Regions from separate parts of the Homo sapiens genome. Here regions 1, 2, 3 and 5 are each linked to region 4. Evidence: promoter capture Hi-C in 16 types of primary human blood cells and fetal thymus (Javierre and others, 2016). All regions are on one chromosome and are shown on one strand. Each heading gives the region's core, a stretch centred on a gene start or on the middle of the fragment in contact. The rest is flanking DNA. Distances are from core to core; before and after follow the strand shown.

Region 1 (2,700 bases), core at 75-2,574, 580 kb after region 4:
TGAAACGGACAAATGAAAATCATAGACCTGACTATCTTTTCCTCTACAAACTTTGACAACAATAATGATCATTTAGTATTACATATATCAAAGAAGCTTCAGATCAGCACAAACAAACATCTTTTGAATCTCAAATATCAATGGGAAATTCTAGATGAAGCAGTTGACTTCTAATTTGCTGAAATTTAAACAGATTCTTATATTGAAAGAGTTAGAATGACATTTTAACTTTTATATTTTCTATAGTTTCAAATGTACTGATAAGGGCTTTTTAGGAGATAAATAATGTCCACAAGGCCAGACATTTTTTTAAAAATCTAAGTTGTGGACATAATTACATTTTGGTCACATTGCATTATAGACTAATACTGTCAGACCTAATAGTTACAATACATAATAGTCAATGTTTGGTGATGCTTCACTGTAATTACCTCATATTAAATTTCCAATCAGAGATATCAGAACTGAATGACACTGCCATTATAACCTGATGTAAGCTCTAGCTCACTGAAAATACACTTGGAACATAAATCTCATCTGGAATCGTGGACACACGGAGGTGGATAATAAATTGGAAACCACCTAACTTAAACTGTCCATTTTACAGATGTAGAAACTGAGGACCAGGGCCCAAGTTTATGCAGCAAGTGAGCGGGAGACCTCATGGCACTGCCTCTTGAATAGTTATTGTGTGCTCTTTCTGTTCTTTCAATTTATTTCAAAACTGAGAAATGATTACACAATTACACATACACTACAATTATAATAACAGCTTCTATTTGTTAAACACCTGTTATATGCCAGGTCATCTTTTAGATGTTTTATGTACAGTCCTTTGTCTGAATACTCAAAACACTGGAAGGTGCTAGGCCCTTTACACAGGTGAGGAATTTGAAGATGAGAGTTTAACTAACACACCTAAGGTTTTACCTAAAGTAACTGCCAGACCAGAATTAGAATCCCAGTTTGTTTAACAACAAAATATATGTTCTTTTCACTACAATATAATAACTATGATTGCAGAAATAAAAAACAAAAAGAACTTAGTGTATGTGGATAATATCCTCCCTCACCGTAACTCTGTCACAGTTTTGTGTTTTAGAGTCAAGACCCTAGTGCATACTTCCACTCTTCATATACAGAGTAGGAATTATTTTCTTTTTTAATTTGTTAAAGAATATTTGACAAAAAAAAAAACTCTTGAAGAAGGCAGATTATCAGCAGTGGTAGATGGCTACAAAGATCATTGATCAGTGCTTTTCAAACTTCAATGTGCCTGTGAACTACTGGGTGATAGAACTGGTTAAAAATGCAGATTCTGAATCAGGAGGTCTGGGGTAGAGCCTAGATGCGGCCTTTCTAACAAGCTCCTGGTGATGCTGAGCTGCTGGGACTGCAGACCACACTTGAGAGTAGCAAGGCCCTAGATCACTATGGTGAAATCTCTACAGGGCCAGAGGGCTGATGCTTTGATGCATGGTTGATCTGCTGACCTTCTGTGGTTTGAGGTGGCTGAGGCAGACACATGGCAACACAGTGTCGTCACCATTCCTAAGAAGCTCCTCCTATCTATGGTGGGCATTCAGTCCGCAATTTCCTTGGCCCATGGACATTATTTGACAGAGGGGTCCCGCCGTGCTTCTGAAACCCTCTCCTCATTTGCCTTCAGTGACTCCTGCTAAAGTGGCCTTGACACGAGTAACTTCAAACCATAAGAGGTCAGCAGATCAACCACACATCAAATCATCAGCCCTCTGGCCTTGTAGAGATTTTGCCATGATAATCTAGGGCCTTGCTACTCTCAACTGTGGTCTACGGTCCCAGCAGCTCAGCATCAACAGGAGCTTGTTAGAAATGCAGCATCTTGGCTCTACCCTAGAGCCCTGAAATCTCCTTCTTTTCCTCCTAATCCACCAGCCTCATCTCACCTTCCTGGGATGGTTCTTCTTCCTGATATCTAAACATTGGGAACGGTCCCCTCAAGACTCAGTCCTTAGATCTTCTCTCATTTCTCTCCACACTCACTCACTTGGTAAACTTCTCCAGTTTCAGAACTTTAAATACAATCCTCAAATGCCCAAAATCTCTACCCTGTATCCTGGACCTTCTAGCTCAGTCTTCTACCCGCAGCTCCAGAATCAGATGTCCAGCTGCCTATTAGAAGCCTCTACTTGGAGGTCTAACAGGCAGCTCAACATAGCCCAAACTGAATTTTTTAATCTTCCCTATCATTCCTAAACATAACCTTGTTTTCTAGTTTAGAAGTATTTTAAATAATAATTGAAGCTAGTTATGTTAGTGTGGGAGGCTGAGGGTGATGAAAATGACTACATTTATGCATTATACCCCACGTTCTGGTGGACTCTGTGGCCATGCCTATAGTGGACAACACTGATTAAGTACACTTGGCTCAGATGTGGTTTAGCTTGGTGTAATCCAGACAAGGCTAAGTGCAGATTGCTCGACCTTAGGTATATACAGCTGATGTTGGGGAAGGGAGTGCATTCAAACTTATCAACTATCTAACAAAGTCTTGACTCAACTCAGGCCTAAAAGCTTCAACTGTATGTGTCTATTCATGTGGCCCACGTGAGTCTAAAAGCTCTGCCTGTCATTGGGAAATGTTGCTGTCATGGATCTTGGCTGGGCCAACATCTTCTCATTTACTTTCGATAAGTAAGCCTTGTTTAATATATTCAA
Region 2 (2,700 bases), core at 5-2,504, 620 kb after region 4:
TTATTTCAAATTTCCTGTAGCCTTCTTTTCCATCATTACCACATGTGTTACAATGTTTATTTATTGTCTGTTTTCTATTAGAATCTAGGAGCAGTTGTGGGGTCAGAGACTATGCCTATTTGGATCACTATTGAATTTCTAAGGCCCACATCAGAGAGTCAATAAATATTTGTTTAATGAACAATTATATACAGTATTTTGTCCTTTCTAGGGCCAAGTTTCCAGTTATTGGCAACTATAATAGTTCTAAACCATCTGTTTACTAACAGTGTGCTTTCTGCAAAACAAACAGATAAAACCCCATTATATAACATTTACAGATATTTATGTCTTATCACAAGGTGATTTTCAATATAATTGGAAGGGTATGCTGAGACAATCCTCCTCAATAATCTGTGTTGTAATCAATATGCCTCCTTTCCTACTATGGAGCCCCCTACCACTAAGAACAACAGACATTTAAATGTTGCTTTAAAATATGACTTTGAAAATGCTAATTTTATAATAAGCCTGAGGTTAATTTCCAGGCAGTAGCTGGATCATTAATGACAGTTTTAATTAAAAAGTAAAAGCTTAACATGTGTAGTGATCAGTAATATATCATTATTTTACTATAGACAGTAAGAATTCATAAGAAATGCCTATAGACAGAACTTGTTCTGGAACTTTATTTGTTAATATCAACTATTTACCCTTTTATTTTATGCTTTTAATAAATATAAATGAACAATAAAATGTATCATGGCATTCTCAAAGACCTCTCAATCATGTACCAAAATATTTATTATATAAGATAACATAACATTTTATCATACAAATCTCTCATGTGTCTTTATAGCGGTTTTATTATCTAACTGTGCTCCACATAACAATCCCCTCTTCAGGCTGGAGTTCTTCAATCCTAATTCACATCACTGGGAACCTTTTCTTACCACCTCTCTTCCTCGTCCACAAATTCTTATATTTTTACTCCTTGCTGTCACATAACAGTTGCATCCCAAAGCCTCCTTTTATGTCAGAGTCATCCATTTATTCTTCCTTCATTCCTTATCTACATTTCTCCAAAAAAACACACTTTAAAGGAATAGCAAGGAAAGTAAAGTATATGTTCATTTTAGAGAGATTACTTTGAATTTTCTGAAAAATCCCAGCCTGGTAGAACACAAGGTTTGTGTCCCATGTGCGGTTGCTGGCATTTTTGGTTTTGGGGTCTGCATCGAGACTTTGATTTAAGAACATAAAATGCATAAGAAAAAAAAAATTTTATCCTTTCTTTCCCCAAGTCGTTAATATGATGCCAAATGACCAGGTCATGCAATGAGATTTTTTTTGAATCGTGACAAACATCTAAATCCTTCATCCTTTGTCAGGTAATCAATGTGTTAAAACATTTAAAAATCAAATAGGAGCATAAGAATAAAAAACAGAGAAATCCTCAAGTGTGATATTTAACATCATATTGTTCGTATGATACAAGGATAACCATTCAAACAATGTGAATAACAAATATGTTATTTTTAAAACAAGAGCCCACTAACTGGAGCTTTTTTTTTTTTTAGTTGAAATAATGACTGTAGCGAATCTGGTTTTGTTTATGATAAAATTGTTAAGTATCAGATAAGGTGAATGTGGTTTTTCAGGATCCCTGTTAGAAATTTAGACAGTGCGGACAGTAAATATGACAACATGTTGCCACCTAGTGGACATTTCATAAAACGTCTAGACATCCAGGTTCCTGAAACAGTGTACGTATTTAGGATCCTGGAGTAGGGCTGAGGGGATCTTCTTAGATATTGTCTGTAGGGCTGTCTTGTTTCACACGATTAGTCTTGGCTCTAGATGTATCAAAATTTTAACTGTAAACTCAAGGACTGAAATCAGAATGTAAAATGCCTAACGTTTATTGAGCATCTATTTTGTACTAAGCTGTGTGCTAAAAGCTTTAGCTGGATTATCTCATATGAGCCTCACAGCAACCCTGTTACTACATAACCACCCGCCCTTCCTGCAGATTAAGAAACCAAGGCAGGGGCCGATTAAGTGACTCACCCAAAGTCACTGGGCCCCAAGCTGTGGAACTGAGGCATGAATGGACTACCTGCCTTCGGAGCCCAGGTCCTCGTCGGAGCAGAAACCTTCCTCAGTTTATCACAGGCAAAACATTGGGACTGGACTTCACTGTATTAAATATGGCACGTTGGGGGTGGGGGGTGATATTAAGTTCTTTACTGAATGCGTATGATCCTCGGAAGTGGCTCTAGGCTTCCAAGAAAGAAAACAAGAGGGCCAGTGTGTCCTCTCTGCTAGACTGAAGACAGCAGACACTCTTGTGGGGGGGATCTGGGCAGCTCACTCCTTTACTCCTGCCTGACAAAGCATTGCCCATTTCCAGACTCGAACTTCAGTGGTCACTGTTTAAAGGATAAAACACTGTGATCTGGGAGGGCAACCCAGAAGCTGTGAATATTTGATCTAATTAACCTATTTCTGCCTGTCATTTCTGAGAAGGACCAGCACCTCTTGATGCAGTAATAGAAAGAGTTGTACTAAGAACTAGTAAATAAAAGAATTGTCCACAAAATTGGAGCTGGAATTTGCACATGGAATGAAGAAAAGAGAGATTGTACTTTCCTCCAGTGCTCCGCCACCCATATGCCCAAGCTTGAATTCGTAGTTATATTACAATGAATATTTCAGTCA
Region 3 (2,700 bases), core at 32-2,531, 610 kb after region 4:
TCTCTGCATTTCTCCACTTATAGCCCCTTTCTACACCTTCAAAACCAGCAGCACATGTCCTCCTGACTCTGTCCCACTTTCACTTATAAAGACCTTTGTGATGACATTAAGACCAACTAGATGACCCAAGATAATCTCCCCATCTCAACATCCTCAACTTGATCACATCTGCAAAGTCTCTTTTCCACATAAGATAACATATTCACAGGGGCTAAGGATTAGGACATGGACTTCTTTGCAGGAGGGCATTATTCTGCCTACCATAGTTTTGTACCTAGGTCAGGTCATAATTCAAACATTAATTAGGTTTTGTTATGAAATATTTCATTTTTAAGGCACAAAATCAAGAAGGCTTTGCAAAATTATAAAGGAGGCATGCTCCCATCACTTTTTTGGTGATGCCTTTCCCTGCTTTCCCTCCTGTCCTCTCACATTCCTGTGACGTCCCCATAACGCCACCCTAAGGGGTTCCTGGTATTGGATAATTTTCCAACTTCTTCCTCCTCTCCCATACCTACCGCCTTTCTACATTTTCTGTGACTTGTGGAAAGGAAAAGGGAATGCAAATGTGGAAGTTGCAGCATTGATCTTGACAAAATTTAACTGTATGAGCCCTCCAAGTCTTGCATTTTGAGCTCCAAGCTCACGATTTAGCTGACTGCTAGGGAAAACACTCTATACCTAATGTCTCTCGCAAGCTTAGGACAAAACTCCATCTATTCTGCACAGTTCACAGCTGATATGCTAAGTGTTGGGGTCCATTTTACAATTTTAAATTTCAAAGAGTTTGCACTTTAAATGGCTAGATCACATATAAGCACATAAAAATACCTATCCATGCAATTATATAATAAGCTACAATATTTTCAAGCAATAAATCATCACTGAGTATTAGTGAAGCTACTAAGTACTAGAAAACTAAGAGAAAGTACTGATTTTAGTTGGTGTTCTAGGGAAGGCCTCAAGAGGAGGTAGGCTTGGCATTGGTTTTTGAGAATAATTACCATGTTATTCTGGGAGAGCATGGAAGCCTTTAAAGGTCAGACACAGCCAAAGGCACCAGGGCAAGTCAATTTTCAGGCAGACTGGGAATCTACCAAGTAGACCAGTCCAGCCAAACCACAGGAGACTAGTGGGAGATAAAGCAGAGAAATGTAAGCAAGCCTTGAGAAACAAACAAGAAGTACAGGAAATACATTTTTCTTGTCCATCTCTGCTAAGAGAGGAAGGGAAAACAATATTGTAGGAACTGAAACTCTGGCTATTGAATGAGTTCATTAGTAAAATAATTAGCCAATGCTTATCAACAATATGTGAATGTCTACTTATGTATACAAGTCTGTCTACACAGGTGAATCTTTTTCTAGGACTCCTTTCACATAATAGGTACAGAAACCATGACATAACCAAGAGTGATATTCAGAATATGAACCTATCGGTTGAGCAGTAGTACTGACCAACCAGAAAAGCTGCCAGCCATAATAGACAACTGGCGAGTAGGAACCCAGGTGAACCAGCAAAAAGTCAGCCCTGGACATCATTATTTAAAATGATTGCTGCTCTCTTAGCAAAACTAAATATCCTGTTGGAAATGTCTTTTCAAAGCACCCAGTTGGAGTTATTAAGTTCTGATTTCTGTAGGCATTCTTTCTGTTGATGAGCTTGGTTCACTTTATCTTAACAGTAGCTGGAATAATAAATAACACTTCCCTCTGCACTGTGAGCCCTTACCCCTGAGTAAAGAACTCATAGAGAAAGGTGAAACAAGACAAGAGGGTTGAGATGTGCATTCTAAATTCAGGTATTTCTAAGTTTGGAGGAGGGATGTGAAGCCCAGGATAAGGCTGTAGGAAGGCTGTGTTAGACAAGCTTATTGATTATAGGTAGAGACTGAATTTCAAGACTACTTGTCTTTGCTATTTGTTCACTTTCTCTGCCTTTATTCTCATGCTACCTTCAGTTGGTAAAGACAATTTCAATATTAACTTCAGAAGCTCATGTTGGTTTGTTTTTATTTCTTCAGCTGGAATAGAAGAAAGCTTACTGTATTCCCAGGCCAAACAAGATGAATTTTCTTTGATTATCCACTGTTTGAACCTGTCCACACACTGTAGTGAAAACCATACCTTTACAAAATATTTTTGCTTGTTTTTAAAGGTATTCTCTAATAGTCTATGGGATTTTGGCTTTCTATCCTTTTTGCAACAGCAGTGTTTTGGGGGATAATTGTGGTTTGATACCTATATCCCTGTTTCTTGGTTTTTGTTTTTGTTTTTTCTTTGAAATATTATCTTTCTTGATGGTTTGGTAAGTGGTTGATATCAAAATAAAAATTTTGGGAAAAGAAAAATAATGTCTTCATGTTAGCTCAAGTAATAGTGGGGAGTTAATATTAGGGTCCACATGGCAATAAGGAAGATGGAGAGCTCATCCAGGTCCCAAAGCAAGAACCCTGCAATCGCTGAGATTCCTGGAGACTGGATAAGGATGGAAGAGCTTTAGGGTTTCAGCTAGAGTCTGGGGATTCTCCCTCGAAGCTTTACCCAGCATTAATGCGGCATCTCTGCTTCTATGAGGATGGCTCCTGGTGTCTTGCCACTATTGAGTGGCTTCCTTACCCCTTGTCCTGTGACTCTTCAGTGGCCATGAAGTGTTGTGTAAAGCAGTGTTCAGGTTAGCTAGTCGACCTTAGGCAAGTGA
Region 4 (2,700 bases), core at 30-2,529:
TGCCCCAAGATGAAAGAAAAATATAGTACAAAAAACTTTAAAAGATACTGTTTATAAAAAGAATCTTTAAGAAACTATTTTAAAGGAACTCAGTTTAAAAAGACACTTAGGTGGAACGTGGATACAAAAATTTAAGTTTTTAAGCTTACGTCACTAACAATTAACAAGGATTGTTAATCCCCGACCAGGGCTCGTCTTAGCATATAAAACACCGTTCTTGATTTCCTATTGGAAACCTACTTGATATTAATTGATCTAGAGACTTTGAAGATTATTGGGACATACCACTAGCAGGGTATGTCTTATTTTCAAATCACCAACTATTACTGCCACAATAGACCTGTGTTTAACCACTAAACTGAACGTTATAGCTTCCGGACTTTTTCATTTGCTAAGAGAAAAGGGAAGGTAAAATTTAGTAGGCTACAAAGGGTAAAAAGAAGAAAGTGCAAACAGTAAGACTACAATTGTATTACATGGTGGTGGAACGTCGGATGAGCTGGAACATATTCAGATGGACTCATGGTCAAGGATATCTTCACTCATAGGGTCAGTGGAAAATAAACATAAACCAACATTGGGATGGCCTCTTTTTTTGATACACCAATTGGTTGAAACTGGATTCCTTCCAGACTTACAGACAGGTTCACACATGTTAGTGAGTCTTTACATCTGTTTGTACAATGACCCTCTTTCTGAGCTGCCTGACTGGGTCCCCAATCCGTGCGGGGTCACTGCCATTCTTCCCTGGGAATCAAGGCTTCCTAGGAGTTTGTTAAATCCCATCCCTGGCTAAACTCGGGTCTCCAATCTCCCATCTGCTTTGTGTGTGAGAGGCTCCGGGGTGTGAGAGGAAAGGCACTGAAGAGGGAGTGAAAGAAGTGGTGAGGGGGGACTGCCTACTAGCTGAGACGATATCTTATTTTTGGCGGGGGATGCTCTGGAAGCGGGGAGGCTGAACTCACTTGGAAAAACTGGAGCTGTGGGGCAGACTCTCAGCGACCGGAACGACAGCCGCCAGCGCCCTTAAGTCTCCCTCCCCACCCAGTCCCCTCCCGCAGACCCCGGGGCCGGCTGAAGGGAGATCAGCAAGTCCCCGCGCAAACTGGCCGAGAATAGCTGTGACGGAGGTTGGAAGGGCGTGGGGGGCAGCGACTTGGATGCAGCCCACATCCCCCCATTCCCAGCCCCAGAAAGGAGGGAGAAACAGCACCTTCCAGCAGGGGTCGCGACCTAACGCTCAACAGCATCCTCTCTTCTCCGGCCGCTCCCTCATCTCCGCTCGCGCCCGGCGCCCCACTGCCGCGCATGCGCACCGCAGGCCGGCGCCATGTTGGGGCGGTTTGAAAGCGAGCGCGGGTGTCGAGCTCTGCTGTGACTGCGGAGGAAGCTGCGAGTGAGCCGAGCCTGAGGCGGGGCGGTGTCCGGGTTGGGGATGCTTTGTGGTGTCTCGCGTTGGGTAACAGGCCTGAGCTTTCGGCGGAGAGCTGTGGAAGTGTGCGGTTTTTGTTTTTGTTTTCCTTTATTTTTATTTTGGGGCCTTAGGGGTGAGTTAGGACGGAAAGGAGGGTGTCTTTTCGAGGGTTGTCCCATCCTGTGACAGCCGAGAAAAGGCGAAAGGAGAGTGGCGAGGAAAGAGGAGGAGACGTCTCCTGAGGGAGGGCGCTTGTGGAGTCTCTGTGGAAGGAAGAACACTGTAGGGGGAGTGCCCCCTGGGCGAGGGAGGGTCGCGGGACGCGGCGGAGGGGGCTCACACGGGCGTCTGCGGACCTGAGGCGGCGACAGGAAGGGGCTTGCGCTCTGGGGCTGTCGCTTCGGAACACTTCTCCTTCAGTCCATTGCTGCGCTCGCCCTGGCTGCTGAATAAATGGTTTCGGAGTGAAAAGCATCTCACTGAAGAACTTGTCTGTGTCTGTGACTGACGGGCGGTGGAACACCAAAGGGAGGGTGTCGCCTGATTGGGACTGGAAAAATTGGAATTCAGGGCGCCCGGGGTAGGGGAACGATGCGCACTGCTGGAGACGGGCGACCTTCGCTGGCCGGTCGGTGGGTTCCTGGTTTTCTGCTGCCGAGTAAACAAACGTTCCCTTTCCTAACTTAGCAGTCACAGAGCTATTTCCAAGAGTTGTTCTTAATTTCCTGTGCGATATTCCCATTGGCTATTTAACACTGAACATTCTGTTTTTGAATCAAAGTTAGTTAAAATTTGTTGTCAATAAGTTTAACATTCTGTTCTTCCGCGTGATGGATTTTCTTTTGGAGATTCGAACTGAAGCCTGTACGGAGGAAATGGTAAGATATATGGGATTTGCATGAGATATGTGGGGTTCAAAATAATCCTGTGGCTGAAGTGGGGAGAAGTGGGTGGGTCCCTACCCACTTTAGCTACAATTGGGGTCTGTTCAGCGATTGTTGGAAGCAGGATGATGAGTACATAGGGGTTTATTGAACGATTCTACTTTTGTATACTCTTTTGGGGAAAAGTTGGAAAACTTTTCATAATGAAACTTAAATTGTGCATTTTCTTTTTGTCTGTCCTGTGAGTTGAAATAACTAGTAAATGTTATCACCCACTTACGGAGACCAATACAACAGCTTTCTCTTTCAAGGTTTTGTAAAATAAAATCAGTAGCCTGTTCGGCATTCAAAGACAGAAAACATTTGGTCAGGCTTATCCAAACAAATTTACTTGAGTGAGTT
Region 5 (2,700 bases), core at 10-2,509, 960 kb after region 4:
CCACTCTCTAAAGCTCTGAAAGCATCTATTTTTCTACTCTGGGGGAGGAGTGGGGGGAAAAAAAGACGAAGGAGAAGAAGTAGGCAAGAAGAAGATCTTAGGATTGGCAAATGATAAATATTTCATGGCACCCAGGAAGGTGCGGCAGTCCTGCACAACTTTGCAAACAATGATCACCACCTAGGATGCTCATCCCTGCGACAATAAAACTTGTCAAAAATCCCCCTCGCAGCCCGCATTCGCTTACCGCTTTCCCATTATAGTAGTACATCAAAGAGTTGCCGCCCATGCCCGGGATTGTGTATGCGCAGTACATGGTCTCGGATTCTTTTTTCTCCTCAGTACCACTCTAACAACTTTTATTTCAAACTCGCTGTCCCTTTTTTCACAACAATTCCTTCAGTTGCATTTTCCCATATGGCCGGGCCAAGCGTGGTGAATATGCAAAGCAGGAAGAGACCATTCCTGGCGGGCGGGGGAGGCCGCGGCGCTGCTGTCAGACGCTCAACTTTGCGCAGCGGAGCTGGAAGGCAGCCCGGCCCTGATGGAGCTCGAAATCCTAATGCATACGCGAGATCGATTCAACTTTTCCGAGGGGTTTTTATTAGTTCCTCGAATAATGCCGATTCTTACAAATTTCTGCAGTCTTCACTTTTTTCTTTTTCTTTTCTTTTTTTTTTTCCTTTTTTTTTTTTTTTTTGTTTTGTTTTGTTCTAGGCACCCTTTTCTTCTCTAAAATTTCCACTCAACTGCCTTAGGGTAAAAGTGGAACAGGGTCCATTATTGAGCAGAATACAAATGCAGTTAATTGACTCCCCCTCTCTCTCTCTCCCTCTCTTTCTTTTTTGTTTTAATTTGATTAAAAAGCGAGTGGCAGGAAGGGAATCGTATGATGCACATCTAATAACTCTGCCATCTGTCTCTGCTGCTGGCTAGCTCCCAGCATTGTACGCAGCTGCCTGAGAACTCGACTCGGAGAAAGGGGAGGGAAAGGGGAGGGAAGAAAAAAAAAAAAAAAAAAAAAAAAACACCACGTCTCTGACCTCGCTCAAAAGGAGAGAGGGGGCAGTGTTTTCTGACTGCTTGGTCAACAACCTACAAAACGGGGTTGCGGAATGAAACAGAGTAGCAGTGCGGCCCGCCCCGGGCTCCGCGGGCCCCGGCCTCCCCGGAGCTGGTGGGAAGCGCGGCCGCCCATGAACTTCACCTCGCCCCGCCGCAGACAGCCGCATGGGCCCAGAGCCTACGGAGGGGCTGGGGCGCTGCTCCCCTCGCTGGCGCTGGGCGCCCCAAGGGCGCACGTTCTCCACTCTGGAGTTGGGTGCTTTCACTGTAGCTTTAGACAATCTACTGCAACTTCACGCTATTTGCTGGGCTCTAAAGCAAGTTTATTGGTACCTTCGAACCGACGAATATCTTACAGCTGTCAGTTTCCCCAAAGGCACCCCTGAGACCACATTTTCAGAGTTTTGCAGCATCCCCGCAGCCCAGTATCTGTATAAATATTTTAGCAAACATCTCATGCACATTTTTACTAAACTTCGATTTTGCTAAACTTTAAGAACGTGAAAACCTTTGTTCACCTTTATTGATCACAACTGAACAATAGAATCCTTATAGATGGCAAGGTTTCTCACAAGCAAGTTGATATATTTATTTATTGTCTTTTAAAAATATTATACCAATCAACAAAAAGGCGGGGGGAGGTACAAAAAAAGGAAAGAAAGAAAGGGAGGGATGTGGGGAGAGGAGATGGGCTGACTTGAGCTTGCCAAATTCAGAGCATCACAGGAAAGGAGGGCCTCTGGGAATTGATCCCAAATGAAACTAAATCATTTGCATATGCCGAAGCAAATGCCACCCGAGCATACATCTATTCTCAAGAATCAACTTTAATAATTCAAAGCACCTATTTCCTTACAACTCAATATGCTAACAAAACACATACAGTATTAATAAACAAGGAGGAATAGTGGTGTTGGTTCCGAGGAGCAAAGCCCGGGCTAATGGTGGAAAGTTTCCCCACTCTCTAAAATAAACACACACACACCGCACATCCACACACACGTATCGAAGGCCCAGAGGTTTGTCTAACTCACTTGCTCTGCATTTATTCGGAAGGTCCCCAGAGGTTTGTGTAAACAGTACTTGAATTATAATCACACATTTCATTCAAATTTCATGCTTTGAGGATTTTTTCCTCATTAGAACAGTTAGTTGTCAATCTGACAGGATCACATTTGTAACCTTTAAACCACCCTCACTGCTTAATACACAAGGCCAGGGTACCCACCTACCAGAGGACAGTATGTAAAAACCACCACTTAGAAAAGAGGCTGGAATTTAAAGAGATAAGTTGGGGAGTTTCCTGGTTGTTGTTTCTTTGTTGTTTCTTCCCTTATTGAGAAGGCTTTTCTAGATCCTAACTTTCCATGGGTAGACTGCTAGAAAGATCTCTAAACTCTTTTGATAAACAATCATTCTGCTTCATCTACGTTAAATACCTTTTCTTACCTATTTTGCAAACATATAAATGCCTTCCTATTAATTATGTAAATATAAACCAAATTGTCATGGCTTAATGAGCTACAATTCCTATTTTTAAAATTGAAGCTCTCATTTCTTTTAATATATTGTTAACATGTGCATAAATAAATATTTTTAATCTGATGAGGTGAAATCGATTTTTAAACCCTGACA

Evidence for each region. Contacts are between HindIII fragments. The CHiCAGO score rates a contact against its expected background, and 5 or more counts as called.
Region 1: a fragment that was not itself captured here is called in contact with the fragment with the promoter of STARD6 in region 4 in 1 of 17 cell types (non-activated CD4 T cells); the score reaches 5.0 in non-activated CD4 T cells.
Region 2: a fragment that was not itself captured here is called in contact with the fragment with the promoter of STARD6 in region 4 in 7 of 17 cell types (activated CD4 T cells, naive CD4 T cells, total CD4 T cells and 4 more); the score reaches 7.0 in activated CD4 T cells.
Region 3: a fragment that was not itself captured here is called in contact with the fragment with the promoter of STARD6 in region 4 in 5 of 17 cell types (M1 macrophages, erythroblasts, M0 macrophages and 2 more); the score reaches 10.5 in M1 macrophages.
Region 5: a fragment that was not itself captured here is called in contact with the fragment with the promoter of STARD6 in region 4 in 1 of 17 cell types (monocytes); the score reaches 5.3 in monocytes.

Annotation. Positions count from the first base shown.
Region 1 is chr18:54,938,099-54,940,798 of GRCh38, forward strand. The region is part of intron 4 of CCDC68 (coiled-coil domain containing 68); the gene reads right to left. Among named protein-coding and RNA genes, the nearest start is that of CCDC68, 20 kb to the right of the region's middle. The HindIII fragment of the contact is 2,460 bases long and covers 95-2,554 here.
Region 2 is chr18:54,981,571-54,984,270 of GRCh38, forward strand. No RefSeq gene overlaps it. Among named protein-coding and RNA genes, the nearest start is that of CCDC68, 23 kb to the left of the region's middle. The HindIII fragment of the contact is 1,368 bases long and covers 571-1,938 here.
Region 3 is chr18:54,963,830-54,966,529 of GRCh38, forward strand. No RefSeq gene overlaps it. Among named protein-coding and RNA genes, the nearest start is that of CCDC68, 5.7 kb to the left of the region's middle. The HindIII fragment of the contact is 1,171 bases long and covers 697-1,867 here.
Region 4 is chr18:54,356,579-54,359,278 of GRCh38, forward strand. STARD6 (StAR related lipid transfer domain containing 6) reads right to left here and starts at 1,280. Exons shown (of 8, transcript NM_139171.2): 1 at 1,214-1,280. It overlaps C18orf54 (chromosome 18 open reading frame 54), which reads left to right and starts at 1,328. Exons shown (of 9, transcript NM_001288980.2): 1 at 1,328-1,497; 2 at 2,196-2,292. RefSeq lists enhancers at 1,832-2,343, 1,845-1,914. The HindIII fragment of the contact is 3,120 bases long and covers 143-2,700 here.
Region 5 is chr18:55,321,423-55,324,122 of GRCh38, forward strand. The region is part of intron 8 of TCF4 (transcription factor 4); the gene reads right to left. Among named protein-coding and RNA genes, the nearest start is that of TCF4-AS1, 130 kb to the right of the region's middle. RefSeq lists a silencer at 986-1,365. The HindIII fragment of the contact is 2,973 bases long and covers 1-2,700 here.